3 separate regions of the Homo sapiens genome follow, and all the other regions are linked to region 1. The links are contacts of gene promoters, found by promoter capture Hi-C in blood cells and fetal thymus (Javierre and others, 2016). All regions are on one chromosome and are shown on one strand. The core of a region is centred on a gene start or on the middle of the fragment in contact, and the rest is flanking DNA. Distances in the headings are between cores, read along the strand shown. Region 1 holds the start of MAOA (monoamine oxidase A). Region 2 has its middle 92 kb from the start of MAOA. Region 3 has its middle 99 kb from the start of MAOA.

The links. The method cuts DNA at HindIII sites, captures the fragments that hold promoters and counts their contacts. A CHiCAGO score of 5 or more calls a contact.
Region 2: a fragment that was not itself captured here is called in contact with the fragment with the promoter of MAOA in region 1 in 1 of 17 cell types (M2 macrophages); the score reaches 6.9 in M2 macrophages.
Region 3: a fragment that was not itself captured here is called in contact with the fragment with the promoter of MAOA in region 1 in 1 of 17 cell types (M2 macrophages); the score reaches 5.3 in M2 macrophages.

What each region holds. Positions count from the first base shown.
Region 1 is chrX:43,655,012-43,659,763 of GRCh38, reverse strand. It overlaps MAOA (monoamine oxidase A), which reads right to left and starts at 3,465. Exons shown (of 15, transcript NM_000240.4): 1 at 3,350-3,465. The coding sequence starts at 3,422. RefSeq lists an enhancer at 4,572-4,631 and a silencer at 4,563-4,752. The HindIII fragment of the contact is 10,667 bases long and covers 1-4,752 here.
Region 2 is chrX:43,561,959-43,566,710 of GRCh38, reverse strand. No RefSeq gene overlaps it. Among named protein-coding and RNA genes, the nearest start is that of MAOA, 92 kb to the left of the region's middle. The HindIII fragment of the contact is 2,255 bases long and covers 969-3,223 here.
Region 3 is chrX:43,753,025-43,757,776 of GRCh38, reverse strand. No RefSeq gene overlaps it. Among named protein-coding and RNA genes, the nearest start is that of MAOA, 99 kb to the right of the region's middle. The HindIII fragment of the contact is 3,648 bases long and covers 823-4,470 here.

The DNA of each region.
Region 1 (4,752 bases), core at 2,216-4,715:
CAGAGTCAAGGAACTGAGGAAAAGAAGCTGGATTGGCTAGCACAGTAGCTATGGTACATGTTGAACCTGAAGTGTTCAATCGTGAAATACCCAGGAGCAGATAAGCTATGGGACAGGAGTTCAGGGAAGGAAGAGGATTCAAATCAGAGACTTGAGAGTTTTCTATAGATAAGGGACAGCTGAAGTCCTAGAATGAGAAAGAGAGGGAGAGAGTACCAAGAGCCCCAAAGTGATGAACAGTGAAACCTTTCAAAACCAGATGTTTGCAAGAATATGAGCACAATGAAAGGGATGGAAAAGCAGCAATCAGTATGGGATAAAAATTCAGGATCCAATAGCATCGCTGAAAACATGAAAGGAGTTTCAAAAAGGAATGGGTGATAGATGATGAATGATGGTTAAGGACCAGAGCATTTTAAAGATACCACTAGACCAACAAATCAGCAGGGTTATTTCCCCTCTCAACTATTAACATACTATATATAATTATTTAATTGGTGGTTAGGCAGATAAAAAGAGTTTGTGGTTGTAAGACATAGTCTATTTTATGTTTTATAATGACAAAAAAGGAGATACATCCAGATGCTGCTATTCTCTGTGTAGAGAGTTATTTAAAAAATGTTGCTAATATGGATCAATTTTGAGTAATGTCACTTAGAATATGTACTCTTCTGGGTGCTATATAATAGAAATAACACTGCTGATGCTATGGATTGGTGATGTATTATGAATGTGTGGGTAACCTATCAAAGTGTACAAGTCCTAATAAAAGTTATAAAGAACATCCAAAGGCATATAAAACTGCCACAGGGACTATTAAGTAATTCATGGGATACTGCCAAGCACACACAAAAATGGTATGTTTCTGAATTCACAAGAATGCTTGGGAAGTGATGCTTCTCACCCGCTCATGAAACACTCAGTTTATGTCCAGGATCTAACACGAGCCACACTTGCAACTACTTTCATTTTAGCTGTGAACCATCTGGGAAGGTACCACAGATAGAAAGCAATGTTTCTGGTCAGTTTGAGTATTAAAATCACTCAGATCTGACTGATGGAGATGGCATTAGAGGAAGTCAAGTGCTTTTTCCAGTGTCACTGAAGCTGGCCTCTGGAATAGAGGTGTGAACTACTGTGCAAGAAATGCCCTCTACTTCCCCCAAATGGAAATAAATTAATAATTAAGAGTGACTATGGACAGATTCAGGTTTTGTGGGACCTACAACTTATATATAACTTGGGTATCCTCTCTAAGAAATAAGAAAGCAAAATTGCAAATACAGGACTGAGTATGAAACTGGTTATTTATTTAGAATGAGAACCAGAAGCAACCTACAGTTATAAGGCCATAAAGCATAAAGTTTATCAGCTACATGGTAATTTCACCTCTGCTAATGACCAAGTATGGAGCATAAAGTATAGAAAGGGAGGAAGAGCAGGTAATCAGGCAGAGGAAAAATAAAAAAACCGCGCTCCTTAAGGAATTCTGGAGACTGAACAAGAAAAAGACTAAGAATAAAATCCCAGAAAGAACTCTGAATTGCAGAATACAGATGGTATGGAGATGGGAGAGGACCCAGAACCCCTAGTCAATGTATATAACACATTGTCATCATATTTATTTTCCAGTGATCTACAACCATATTGCTTTTAGGAGGCTTGCCTAGTGGGACCAGATTTTGGGAAACAGCAGTCCACTTCATTGCAGGTACTCAACAAGTGTTTTTTGAATGAATAAATAAATACATAAATAAATAAAGAGAAACAAGCTGAAATACTCCTTTTTCTTACTCTCCACCAGGAGCTGCTTTCCTCTGATGCTCCAACATACATGTATGTTTTTGCTGGTACTGGCTGGAACTGGCAAAGCAACAGTTCATGCCAATCTCTTCTCTTGGCCTGTTCAGGATAAACAATGTTGGGTTCAGATAAAGCTATCTCTACCCAACATTAATTTGTAGCATGTTCAGAGTCTCCTCGAAAGATTTATATATAAAAATGGCTACTGTGGGGCCACTCTACTTACTCCCTCCCATCAGCTTTCTCTTTCTGAATCAGATCCTGCAGGGATAACTCAGAAATTATTAACACCTAGTAGGGGGAGGATAGGTCAGTGTGGTATTCTAGCCAGGGATGAAAGGCAACAAAATTCCTAATTTTCAAACATTTTACCAATGATGGCAACATAGGCGACAATATATCAATCATGATGAGGCTTCCAGGAAGATATTGGAAAGCCTCATGCACCACTCACTTGGTTAGCCACAAATCCAAGCCAGGACCAGGGGCACCCTGGCCCACCAACTGGCTCATCAGAAGACAAGATTCAGGTGGTGGGAGCTCTTAGTGAAAGGAGGAAGGAGGATACAACAGGGCACTCAGCCCCTGCTTCATAAAGGGATTCTCTTTGGACAATAAATGTCCTACACCTTCCTGCAAGTTCATATATATATATACACACACACAGTTCATATATATATATATATAAACACAGTTCATATATATATATATAAACACAGTTCATATATATATATAAACACAGTTCATATATATATATAAACACAGTTCATATATATATATAAACACAGTTCATATATATATATAAACACAGTTCATATATATATATAAACACAGTTCATACACACACACACACACACACACACACACACACACACAGGAATAGTTTAAGAGCTCACCCCCTCTTCTCCTCTTTTTTTTTTTAACCTTTTCTTAAAGGAGTCTACCTCCTTCCTCTTCACCTACTAAATTTTCTACGGAAAATAGAGAAGAGCAGGACTGGAATAACACTACTGCTCCCTCAATACTACAGAAATCTGTATCCTGATGTTCTGTTTAGGGCAAAGGATATGAAATCAGTGAGGCAAAGCAGCCACCTCAGGAATTAGTACTGCAGGTCTTAAATGGGAGAAAATCGTTCAGCCACTTACAAGCTAGGTGATTCGACCTCAAGAGAGTTATTGAAACTCCCCAGACCTCAGTTTCTTGGTTTTGCAAAACGGGGATGAATTTAGTTCCCACCTCACAGGACTGTTGAGGACTGAGAAAATCCACGTAAAGTGCTAAATACAACTGCACAGCAAGAGCTAATTAAATATTAGTATTTAATAGTAGTAGTAGTAAAATTATTGTGTCTGCCTCCCCCAGTCACACCACCAGCAAAACTGGCACAACCCCCACTCCTACCTCGCAGGATATGGGGCCAAGCCATGGCTACACTACACTCTCGCATGCATGAGAGACCCCCAAACACCACAAGAGCTACTGTAGGTTCCCCTACCCCTCACTGGCCAGGGTCCCCCAGGCCACCGCTACGGTCCACACTGACCTGAAATGCCACCTCCGATCACGACTACGTCGAACATGTGGCCCGCGATACTCGCCTTCTCTTGATTCTCCATGCTTTGGCTGACACGCTCCTGGGTCGTAGGCACAGGAGTGGGGACGGCAAAGGGTGGGAAGGACCCTTCTATCAACTCCCCCGGGGAGCCCGGGGGCGGAGCCGATCCTTCTTTTGATACCCGGGGGGAGCCGGGCACTGTGGGCGGGGCGAACCCTTTTGCTGATACTCCGGGAGCGCCCAGGGGCGGAGCTGATGTTTCAGCTGATACCCGGGGGGAGCTGGGCACTGAGAGCGGGGCGGACCCTTGTACTGACACTCGGCGAGAGTTATTAGGTTTAGAATGTCCTTGTGTCGGCAGCTGGAAAGGATTACTGGGTGCAGGAGGTTCTTGTATTGAACCCCGCGGAGTGTCAGGCACTGAGGTGGGGGTAGACGCCTGCCTTGACACTGGGGGGATGTTATGGGGTGCAGGAGGTGCTTGTGGCGACACTGGGGAAATGTTATTGGGTAGAGGTGGTCCTGGTACCAAACCCCAGGGGAAGCTGGACACTGAGGATGCGGCAGACCCTTGTACTGACACTCGGGGGTGTTACTGGGTGTAGGAGGTGCTTGTATTGACACTTGCGAAAGGTCATTGGGTATAGGAGGTCCCCGTACAAATATCCAAGTGTAGTCGGACACTGAGGTCAGGTTGGAATCCGGGGGCAGGGTCGGTCCTTTTACCAAACCCCGTGGGGTGCTGAACCCTGAGGAGAAGGCAGACCCTTGCAATGACTCTACGGGGGAGTTTACGGGCGGGGTAGGTCCTGTTACTAATACCCAGGGAATGCCGGTGTCCTGATTGGAGGCTGTGACGGCCCCATCGGAGGAGTTCGAGCTGGTGGTAGACTTGGGGATCCGACTGCTCGGGTTGTAAGCGCTGAAACCCCGGAGGCCACTCTTGGAGTCGGAGTCAGTACTCTCGCTAAGACCGGTAGTGCTGATTGGGGAGTGTATGCTGGAGCTCCAGGAGGCGGCCTCGGCAGTTGAGGACGTGCTCCACTGGGAACTGGCTAGCGGATCCGAGACGGACCGCCACTCAGAACGGACGCTCCATTCGGACAGGCTGTAGGAGGTGTCGTCCAAGCTGGAGTCCGGGTTCGGGACCTGGGCAGTTGTGCCCCCGGCTTCGGGCGGGCCCTCCGCCTTGCGCTCGGTGCCGGTGCCGGTACTGGTGCGGGTACTGGTGCCGGTGCCGGTACTGGTGCGGGTACTGGTGCCGGTGCCGGTACTGGTGCGGGTACTGGTGCCGGTGCCGGTGCCGCCGGGGAAGGAGGCTGAGGCGTTTGTGCTCATGTTTCTGGAGCACGCTGGGCGCTGGGGGCGGTGTTCTGCTTCCCGCAGCCCTT
Region 2 (4,752 bases), core at 847-3,346, 92 kb after region 1:
TGGGGCTTTGAAGTGTGTATAATACATCATCAAATAATATTTTTGGGGACTTGGAAATTCTGGAAAGAATTGAGAACCTATAGGCATCTGTTTCAATACACAAAGCTGAAGCAATATAATAGTAGTGTTTTTTAGTTCAAAAAGGTTTTTCTCCACTAATGACTGATAACTAAAATTGTAAGTCTTGTAAGACATGTTGAATTTCCAAATTATTTCCTTTGAACCTATACAAATATATAACTGATGATAAAAAACAAGAAAAGCCAGGCAAATTCCAGGAATGAGGTAGAAGAATATCAACAAGGACTCATAATCATATGTACCACTTGGCTTAGTAGTGACTCATAGTAATCATAAAGGTAAATATTAAATACTGGTTTAACCAGAAACCTATATAACATTAAAAGAGAGAGAAACTGGTATTATATAAGAGTGCTAATATTCATCTTCTATAATAAGTAAACTTATGAAATGTTAAGGTGGAGCATGGAAGAAAAACCTGTTTATTTTCACTATAAGTCTTGCAGCTATGTTCAATTTTAATTATTTAATACTTCACAAAAGTTTTAGAATTCAAATAGTACTGCATGATACTGTTATATATCATAATCCCAGTCTTTAAAAAGAGAAAATAATGTGCCTAAGGAAAAGAGCAGAAGAAATCTAACACAAATTCTCTTTGAGTTGCGGGATTTGGGATAATTTTACCTTACCTCTAGTGCTTACTTTTTGTGTGTTTTCCAAGTCTATCAAATATTTACTCCTATATTTTAAAACAAGATCAGTTAGTCAACCTTCTCCCAAGTTGGGGCAGGGCTGGGTACAGCATTCTCTCCAGTTTAGAGCCACCTTGTTTCTTTTCTTATGGTATCAGCCTGGACTCTGATAGTTTCTGTGTTTTCTTGAGTTGGTTCATGTTCTGTTAGATTCCAACTCTTTCTAGATGTGTCTATGCTATCTCTAAAGCTTTAATTGCCTGCTGAATTGGTTTTGAATGGACAGAACTAAGATTCTCCGCTCACTTATGTCTGATTCCTAAAGTCAAGACATGACAGGTGTTGGTTTTTCTTAGTCCTTTATTTTCTTTCAATTCTTTTTTCATTGGTTTCCACCCTGCCCCACTATGTTTTGGTTTAAGAAGCTATCTTCCCTAGGCTCATGTTCTTTAATTACTTATGGATTAATTATACCATCCCACAGAGGTTGTGTATACACTGTGGGCCTCTTAAAATAGCTTTTAGAGGAGACAGACATAAGCCCATTTGTCTATTAGACAGCCCAGGTTGCCCCACCCCTATAGATAGTTCCCTTTGCACACCCACCCCCCAGCCACCCACTCATCCACTGTAAGTAGCTCCCCTCCCCTGTACCATAGGTAGCTTAGGAAATGCTGTTTCCCTAGCTGGTTCTGGCATGGGTGTGCAAACTTCCCTGCCTGCCTGATGTTTGAGAATGGCATGTTCCTCCTATCAGAAAGATATTTTTCTGACTCTGTGAGCTCAAGGAATTTTAATTGATGTTTACAAGACTGGTTGGATATTCCCTCTCTCCTCTCTACTTCTTCATAAAAATGTGGAGTTTCAGGTAAGTGGATCCCTCTCCTGGAGCACGTTCCACAGTGCGTCAAATCATATCCATCCCAATAGAACATTTCACTGGAGGTAGGTTCAAAACATCCAGTCTCCTAAGTTCCCAACATCCCACAGGCAGTAAGCAAGCCTGTAGCTTGGAAAGGTGACTTCACACATAATGGAAGTTGGATCTGGTATTAGTGGAACCAGGGACATAAGTTGGATCCTGGGTAGACCGTTGCTGCTAGTGCAAACTCATTAGCAAGAAAAATAAATGTAATGGGATAATGGTTGTGGGGTTCTATTCCTGTCAGTGACAGTACTGATGGAAAATAATAGAGGTATGTTTACATTTAGATGTTGAACCAGGAGGAGGGGAATTCATTACAAATGCTACTTGCTAACTGTAACTTTTCACAATCAGTTTGTTTAAACCGGCAGAGACCCTGATTGAGAGCAATATCTAGTGCTGGTCAAAGAGGGTGAGGCCAAGCACATAATAGCCAGGCCTCTGTGTATATAGTTTTAAACCTATAAAAATTACTTCAGGGCTTGGCGCGGTGGCTCACGCCTGTAATCCCAGCACTTTGGGAGGCTGAGGCTGGCGGATCACGAGGTCAGGTGTTCGAGACCAGCCTGGCCAACGTGGTGAAACCCCATCTCTACTAAAAATACAAAAATTAGCCAGGCATGGTCGTGGGTGCCTGTAATCCCAGCTACTCAGGAGGCTGAGGCAGGAGAATTGCTTGAACCTGGGAGGCAAAGGTTGCAGTGAGCCGAGATTGCGCCACTGCACTCCAGCCTGGGTGACAGAGCAAGACTCAGTCTTGGAAAAATAAAAAAGAGAAAAAACTTCACGAAGACAAGACACATGAGGAATTGCTGACATACCTTATCTCCCCTTCTCACTTCTGATGGACAAGAGACTAGTCCTTAACAAGTTACTCTTATCTGTAAGGTCCCCCAAAATAAATGTGCGCACAGAAGACAACTATCAAGAGAACAGTTATTACTCAGAGCTCTCCACTGGGCCACGTGAAGCCTGTTGCCTAATTCTTCAAAAAGCTATCCTGATTTTTGTAAAGAAGTCAGTTGGGCATTTGTAACTTCCTGCTCTTTAGGACTTTGCTACTAAACTGGGGACCATGAATTGACAGAATAGGCATAACTCAGGAGGTTCCTAGAAATGTAGATGCTCAGGCCCTACTCAGGACTTGCTGAATCAGAATCTGCTTTGTAACAGGGTCCCCAAGTGATTCATATGCATGTTAGAGTTTGAAAAGAAGTACCCTAGGTCAGTGATTCTCAAGCAGATGCCCACTCAGGGTTTCTTGTTAGCCTTATGAAACAGAATGAGTCTGGAGATGCTAAAACTTCTCCTCAAGAGGACAGTGCCCAAAACTATGCCTTACCTTTGCAGGAACAAGATATGGAGAAGCTGGCCCTATTTTCTTTCATCAATCCCTTTAGAGATAGGGTCTCTTTTTTTCCCTCAGAAGAAGTCTGATGGCCAGTCAGGAGGAGACTTAATAGTCCTATCACCAGAGTCATTATCTAGTGTCAGTATCACTAGAGTTAAAATTATGAGCAACAGAAAACTGGTTCTCCATATCCTGGATGAGGGGCAGGGTTAGGGATGGGTGGTATAAGCTTGACTAATATGTATTTCCTGCTGTCAAGGATCTCTATTCCTTTCAGGAAAGGAAAGATGTTTTCATTCCACCCGAAAATAGTTACTTTCCTACTTTAATGTAAATAGCAAAAGGCTGAGGGATAGATGTCTGTGTTAGTCAGGGTTCTTCAGAGAAACAGAACCAGTAGGATGTGTGTGTATGTAGAGCCACTTAAGGAATAGACTCATGTGATTATGGAGGCTGGCAAGTCCAAAATCTACAGTTCAGGTCTGAATTCCTTCAGACTGGAAACCCAGGGAAGAGCTGATGTTGCAGTTCAAGTCAGAAGACCATCGGCTGGCCAGATTCCTCTTTGCTTGGGGGGAGTTGGTCTTTTCTTCAATTCAGGCCTTCAGCTGATTGGATGAGGCACACTCACATTATGGAGGGAAAGTCCACCAATTTAAATGTTAATCTCATCCAAAAACACCTTCAGAGAAACATCCAGAATAATGTCTGACTGAATATCCCGGCATTGTTTGCCCAGCCAAGTTGACATGTAAAATTAACCATCACAATCTTTCTTTGCCCACTGCCTTTCTTCGCTCACTGCCTTTCTTCATGCTCCTCTTGAGCAATGCTGGCTGCCAGAGCTGTATCTCAAGCCTTTCTTTAGAGCCTCTGTATTGCAGACTTGTCTATCCCACTGGTATTTCAAATTCACTATGGCCAAGATGTCTGATTTTTTTTCTCATCACCTGCCTACCCATAACCCCCCCCCCTTTTTTTTTTTTTTTTGGTATTCAGGACCACAGTCAATGGTATTCTTATCCAATTCATCATGTAAGGCAGTAACCTGAGAGGATCTTCAATGCTTTCATCACCTTCCCTTCCCCCATGTCCTCCTCCCCAGTGCCCTCATTACCAAAGGAAGATGTTTTAAGTACAGCAACACTTGCCTAAGAAATACCAAAACTAAATGTTGTGCGTCATTGCAACTGTCTGTAAACAGATGAAGTATTTTTGTTTTCAAAAAACTAAAACCACACTGTTTGAGTGCCCCTGGTAAGCCAAACACTGACTGGACCTAACTGATGATGCTTTCCTCACCAATGAATAATAGGAATTGAGTAAACCAACCTTGTCAGACCTATGGATTCATTCTATGTTAGCCAGAGTGCTAGTTTTTAATCCTCAATTAGTATAACCACTATGAAACCTGCTGCCTGGTATTTAAAAACTATTTTTTTCTCTCAGTGAAGAAATCAGTGCATTTCTTCAAAGGCATGCTTTCCTTTGCCTAGGAAGTTAATCGACTAAATGTCTTAGTCCATTTTGTGTTACTAGAACAGAATACCTGAGACTGGACAATTTATAAACAAAATAAATTTGGCTCATGGTTCTGGAGGCTGGGAAGTCCAAGATTCAGGGTCCGCCTGTGGTGAAATCCTTCATGTTGCATCATCCCATGGTGGAAGGCATCACATGGTGAGAGAAGGTGAGAGTGCACAAGGTACAGCGAGAAAAAGAGGGCCAAACTCTTGGGCTAACTAGTCCACCCCTGTGAT
Region 3 (4,752 bases), core at 1,397-3,896, 99 kb before region 1:
TGGCTTGGTCTAGAGTAATAAAGATACAGATCCGTGGAGATCCATGAAGATCCGAATGGAGGGGTTGAGTAGGCTTTTGACTATGTACATTAGAGTTCCAGGGAGAGGTTGGGGCTGGTGATATAATTTGGGGAGCTGTGGGATTGAGTGTAAACAGAGCAATATTTGAAGATGAGCCCCGAGACACCCAACCATTAAATGTGAAATGTTCAATATCTATTTACTCAATTACAAACAGCAGTGATCCCCAAAAGAAATATATATCTAAGAGCTATGACAAATTATGTACTCAGATTACAGTGATTTCACTGTAATCATTCATTATAATCTCCATTATTGCAGCTTTTCAGTGATTATAGCAAGCTGATGTAAAAAAGTGAGTAATAGTTGTTTTAAAATCTTTTAAAAACATTTGTGTTTTATATTTCTGGTGTTTGGACACCTGGTTAAACAATCTGCTGCTGTATTTATGTATTTGCTTATTGTCTGCTACTTCCCAGAGAATTTGAGACAACATCCAGCAACACATTTAAACACTAAGTTAACAAAACAAAACAAAAGGAGATGGTGTGTGAGCAGTAAGTGGATGAGGAGAATGTGGACAAGCAGGTGGGCACAGGGAAGGCCGACTGCTGTCTAGGTAGGGAATCTGAGGGACTCCAGCAAAGACCCATTGACCAAGGCCTGAAAATGTTTTTGTTTCATTTTATCGCACTGTCTGAAATGTTACATCAGAAATCCTCTTAGACTGGGGTCTATCAAAATGCACCTTTGGCCCACCAAATGGATTCCTGGCACGTCTCACTTTAGTGTAAATAAGCTTTATCAAGTTGTGGTCAACTCAGGGAAAAAGTCTACTCCAAAGATGAAATTCTGGGCAACACTAGCACAAGGTGACTTCAGGATGTTGGGGGACTCAATGATTCTTCCTTCCCCATCACCCTCTGAACTCTTCTTTCTGCCGGCCTCCTTAATGTCAGCTCTTCCTCATGTTTCTCCTTGATTTCCTCTGGAGTGCTTTCAGTGGGTGACTGCCTCCTTTTTCAAGATCCTGCTGATGGTAAGAAGAGGACTCCAAATATGTCCAGTGCTTCCCAGGGGTCAGCAGGCATGCTAAAATGACGCTTTTCATAGCTTGACCTCAGAAGGTTGGGTTCCCTATTTGAAAGGGCTCTATGAAAAAGTGGATGGGTGAAAAATCTAGAATAAAGATATGAAAGCGGGGAAGGCTCTGATAATTTCTATAGGCCTTTGGTCCACCCAGCAGACTATGGCCCAAGAACCTTTCCCTGGGGCTTGTACCTGCGGGAAGTGCTACTTCCTCTGCCTTAGGTGTCCTACCCTGTTGTCAGCCTGGAGAATTTCTACATTTTGTCTTTAGCCACTCAGCTCCAGGATTTCCTTCTTTGAGAAGCCAAGGAGAGGAGAGTCACCCGGGTCCAGTGAGGCTCTTTCTCCACCCCAACCCATCCAGGCTGGCAGTGCCAAAAACGCCATATGCACAGCTTAGTAGGGTGACCCAGATAGGCGGGCAGGGAAGAGCAGCAGGGTCCCAGTGTTGCTGGCAGATTATTCAATCAAGGTTCTGCAGAGGCTAATCCAGGTGGATTCAAGGGCCCAGTATTCAGCAGGCGTGCAAAAAGTCATATTCAACCAGGGAGCAAGACATCAGCAGCACCTGGGTGCCAGCCATATCCCTGCCCCAAAGGGATCTGTGATGAAAACAGGGTAGTTAAGGTGCCCAGTGCAGACCACAGGCCTCGGACTAGATCTCAGATCCCATCCTCTCACAGAGATGGGTCTGCCTCAGGGTACAGGACCAAGGCTCCATGCCCAGTAGCCATTAGCAATTCCTTATCCTCTGCTCCTTATGTGTAGGGCTCTCCTGTCTGAGCCTAAAAGTGTGTGTTTCCTAGATTTCCTGCTATTATCCTCTGCCAACCCATCCCCACAAAGACACCCTGGACCTGTTTGCCTGAAACCCAGACTGAGGATGGCTAAGTCCTTGTGCGGCAAGCCCATCTTCTCCGCTAACTGTTTCCTGACCACTAAGGCTGTCGTTTCCCTTTGCTCACCCTGGCCACCCCACCATACTGAGTCTGTCCCTGTCCCAGGAGAGGGCATTGTGCCATACATGGGCCCCTTCTCCCTGTCTCAGAGGGACTGCTGTGCAGAACCCTCATTTCCCTCAATGCCGATCCGTGAAGGATGTGATCTGCTGAGTGCTCAAAAGCACCCACCTGATGCCAAACGACGCTTACATTATCCCAATACTGTCTTCTGTCTTTACCTAACTGGAAATTTTTACCATGGATTCATGTGTGGGGGTGGGGAGAAGGTTAGCCCAACTCTGAGAAGCCAAGAGCACCCTTCCTGGGTACACCCGGTGTCAGTCCTAGCCCTTGGAGTAAGCTGGAGAGAGACTGGATTTTTTTTGTTTTTGTTTTCTGTGCTTGTTAATTTTAATTTGTTAATTTTGCATTTCAGCCAGATATCCAGCTTCCCTGAGAGGCCAGGCTTGTCATAAATGATCGGATGAAATAAATAATGAATAAATGCTTCTCTCTTGGATTCCAGTTTAAATCCAAGAGCCCTGGTGAGATCTGAGGACTGGTTCTGTCAATTATTTCTTCCAGACTGACCTTCGGTTACTAATTGGCTCATTTAAATTCATTCTTTTGAGGGCATGTTACAATGGAAGTGAAATAATTAAAGAGCAGAAAACTTGAATTTGTAGTTGGATATGTTTGAAGGTATGTCATTACCATTATGATACTGGGCACCATATGAAATTGTGGTCCTGGGAAATGACAGTGGGTTTTACTTTTTCTCATGCAAGTGATGTTTCGTAGTAAAACCTGGATCCTTGATGGCTACTTGCTTATCTCTCTATCTATACCAAAAATAGTGGCATAAGGCAGTGCTTGCCAACCTTTTTCACATCACATTACACAGAAAAAAAATGATTGCATTTGTTTTGGCACACTGGGTAAATGGATACAGTTACTGAATGCATGGAAGCTAGTAGCTTAGGGGCTGTGGCCACCCAAGTTCCTATTCCTCTGACTGGAGAACTGATGGCCTCCAGATCTCTACATAGATACAACCCATTCGTGGTGGGGTCTGTCATTTGGGGAGACATTAAACAAGCATTTCAAAAAATATGTAATTGTGAATCTTTATGGAGGGAAAACAAAAGCAGTGATAAGAGCATTCTTTCATATGTTTGTTGGCCATTTGTATATCTTCTTTTGTGAAGTAACTCAGGAATGGAAAACCAAACATCATATGTTCTCCCTGATATGTGAGAGCTAAGCTATGAGGACACAAAGGCATAAGAATGATACAATGGACTTTGGGGACTTGGCGGGGAAGAGCGGGAGGGAGGCGAGGGATAAAAGACAACAAATAGTGTGCAGTGTATACTGCTCGAGTGATGGGTGCATCAGGATCTCACAAGTCTCCACTAAAGAACTTACTCATGTAACCAAATACCACCTGTACCCGAATCACTTATGGAAAATAATTTTTTTAAAGCAGTGATAAGAGATTATAATGGAGAATTAATTGTCCGGGGGGTTTCTCAGGAAATGCATCTCTGAGGAAGTGCTATTTCATCCCTTGGGAAATAACCTAAAGGATTTAGCCAACTGAAGAATGGAGAAAATAACCTTCCATGGAGAGGGAACCAAGACAGAAAAGAACTGGATATATCTGAGGATTTATGAGAACGAGATGGCTGGAAGGTTCTGAGGGAGAGTGGAGTGACCAGAGACGAGGGTAGGGAAACAGGCAGAAAAAAGAGCATGCAAGGCCTTGGGAGCCACAGTGCGTCATATCCAAAGTTCATTGAGCAGCTATTGAAAGGGCTTGAGTCTGGACTGACAGGATCAGATTTGCAGTTTTAAAAGATCTACTTGGGCTGCTCGGGTGGTGTAGTAAAAGGGAAACCAGGGCATTTTAGCAAGAGATGACTAATCAGAGAGGAGTTACTAGTGGAGAAAAGTAATTTGAGATGTATTTTTGAAGTAGGAATCATAGTAGACCACAAAGAGATCCTTTATTTCTTTAAAGCTATCATTTATTGTTAGTACTGTAACAACTTCACTTATGTGATCCTATTGAATGCTCAGAACAACTGAACAGCTAGCTCCATTTAACAGATAAGAAAATGCATGTTCAATACCAAGATTCAAACCCAGGCCTAGCCAGCTCCAGAAACCTGAGCTTTTAACATTTACGCTTTCCTACAAAACAGGGTGACTTAACAAAGTATCTGTTTCTAAAGACAGTTCTTAGGGCTAAGAAATCAGAACGTGCCTTTAGAAATAATAAGTATTCCTAGTTGTGTGTTAAAGGTAGGAAGCTGAAACCAACAGACTTTCCTGTCCCTAAGCTAAACAATACTGAACCAGTCAAAATAACTTGGCTACTTGTCCCAGGAAATACTTGCTCCTGGAATACAAAGCTTTGAAGTAACACAAATAGATTATTTATCAAGACTAACAGCTTGCTCATCAAGACTTGCTTTAAGACACCACTTTACTTTGCCTACCAATCCACAACTACTCTATCATAAACTTTTCCAATTCCAACCAGTTTTTTGCCTTGCAAGATCTGCCTTAAAAACAACCCCCAAATTGAAAACCCTGTGAACCCTCCCCCAATTTTTCCACTTTGAGACACTAGTAAGACTGTCAATGCGATGTTCTTCCTTATGCAATGTGTCTGATAAACTTAGCTTTTCTTGAT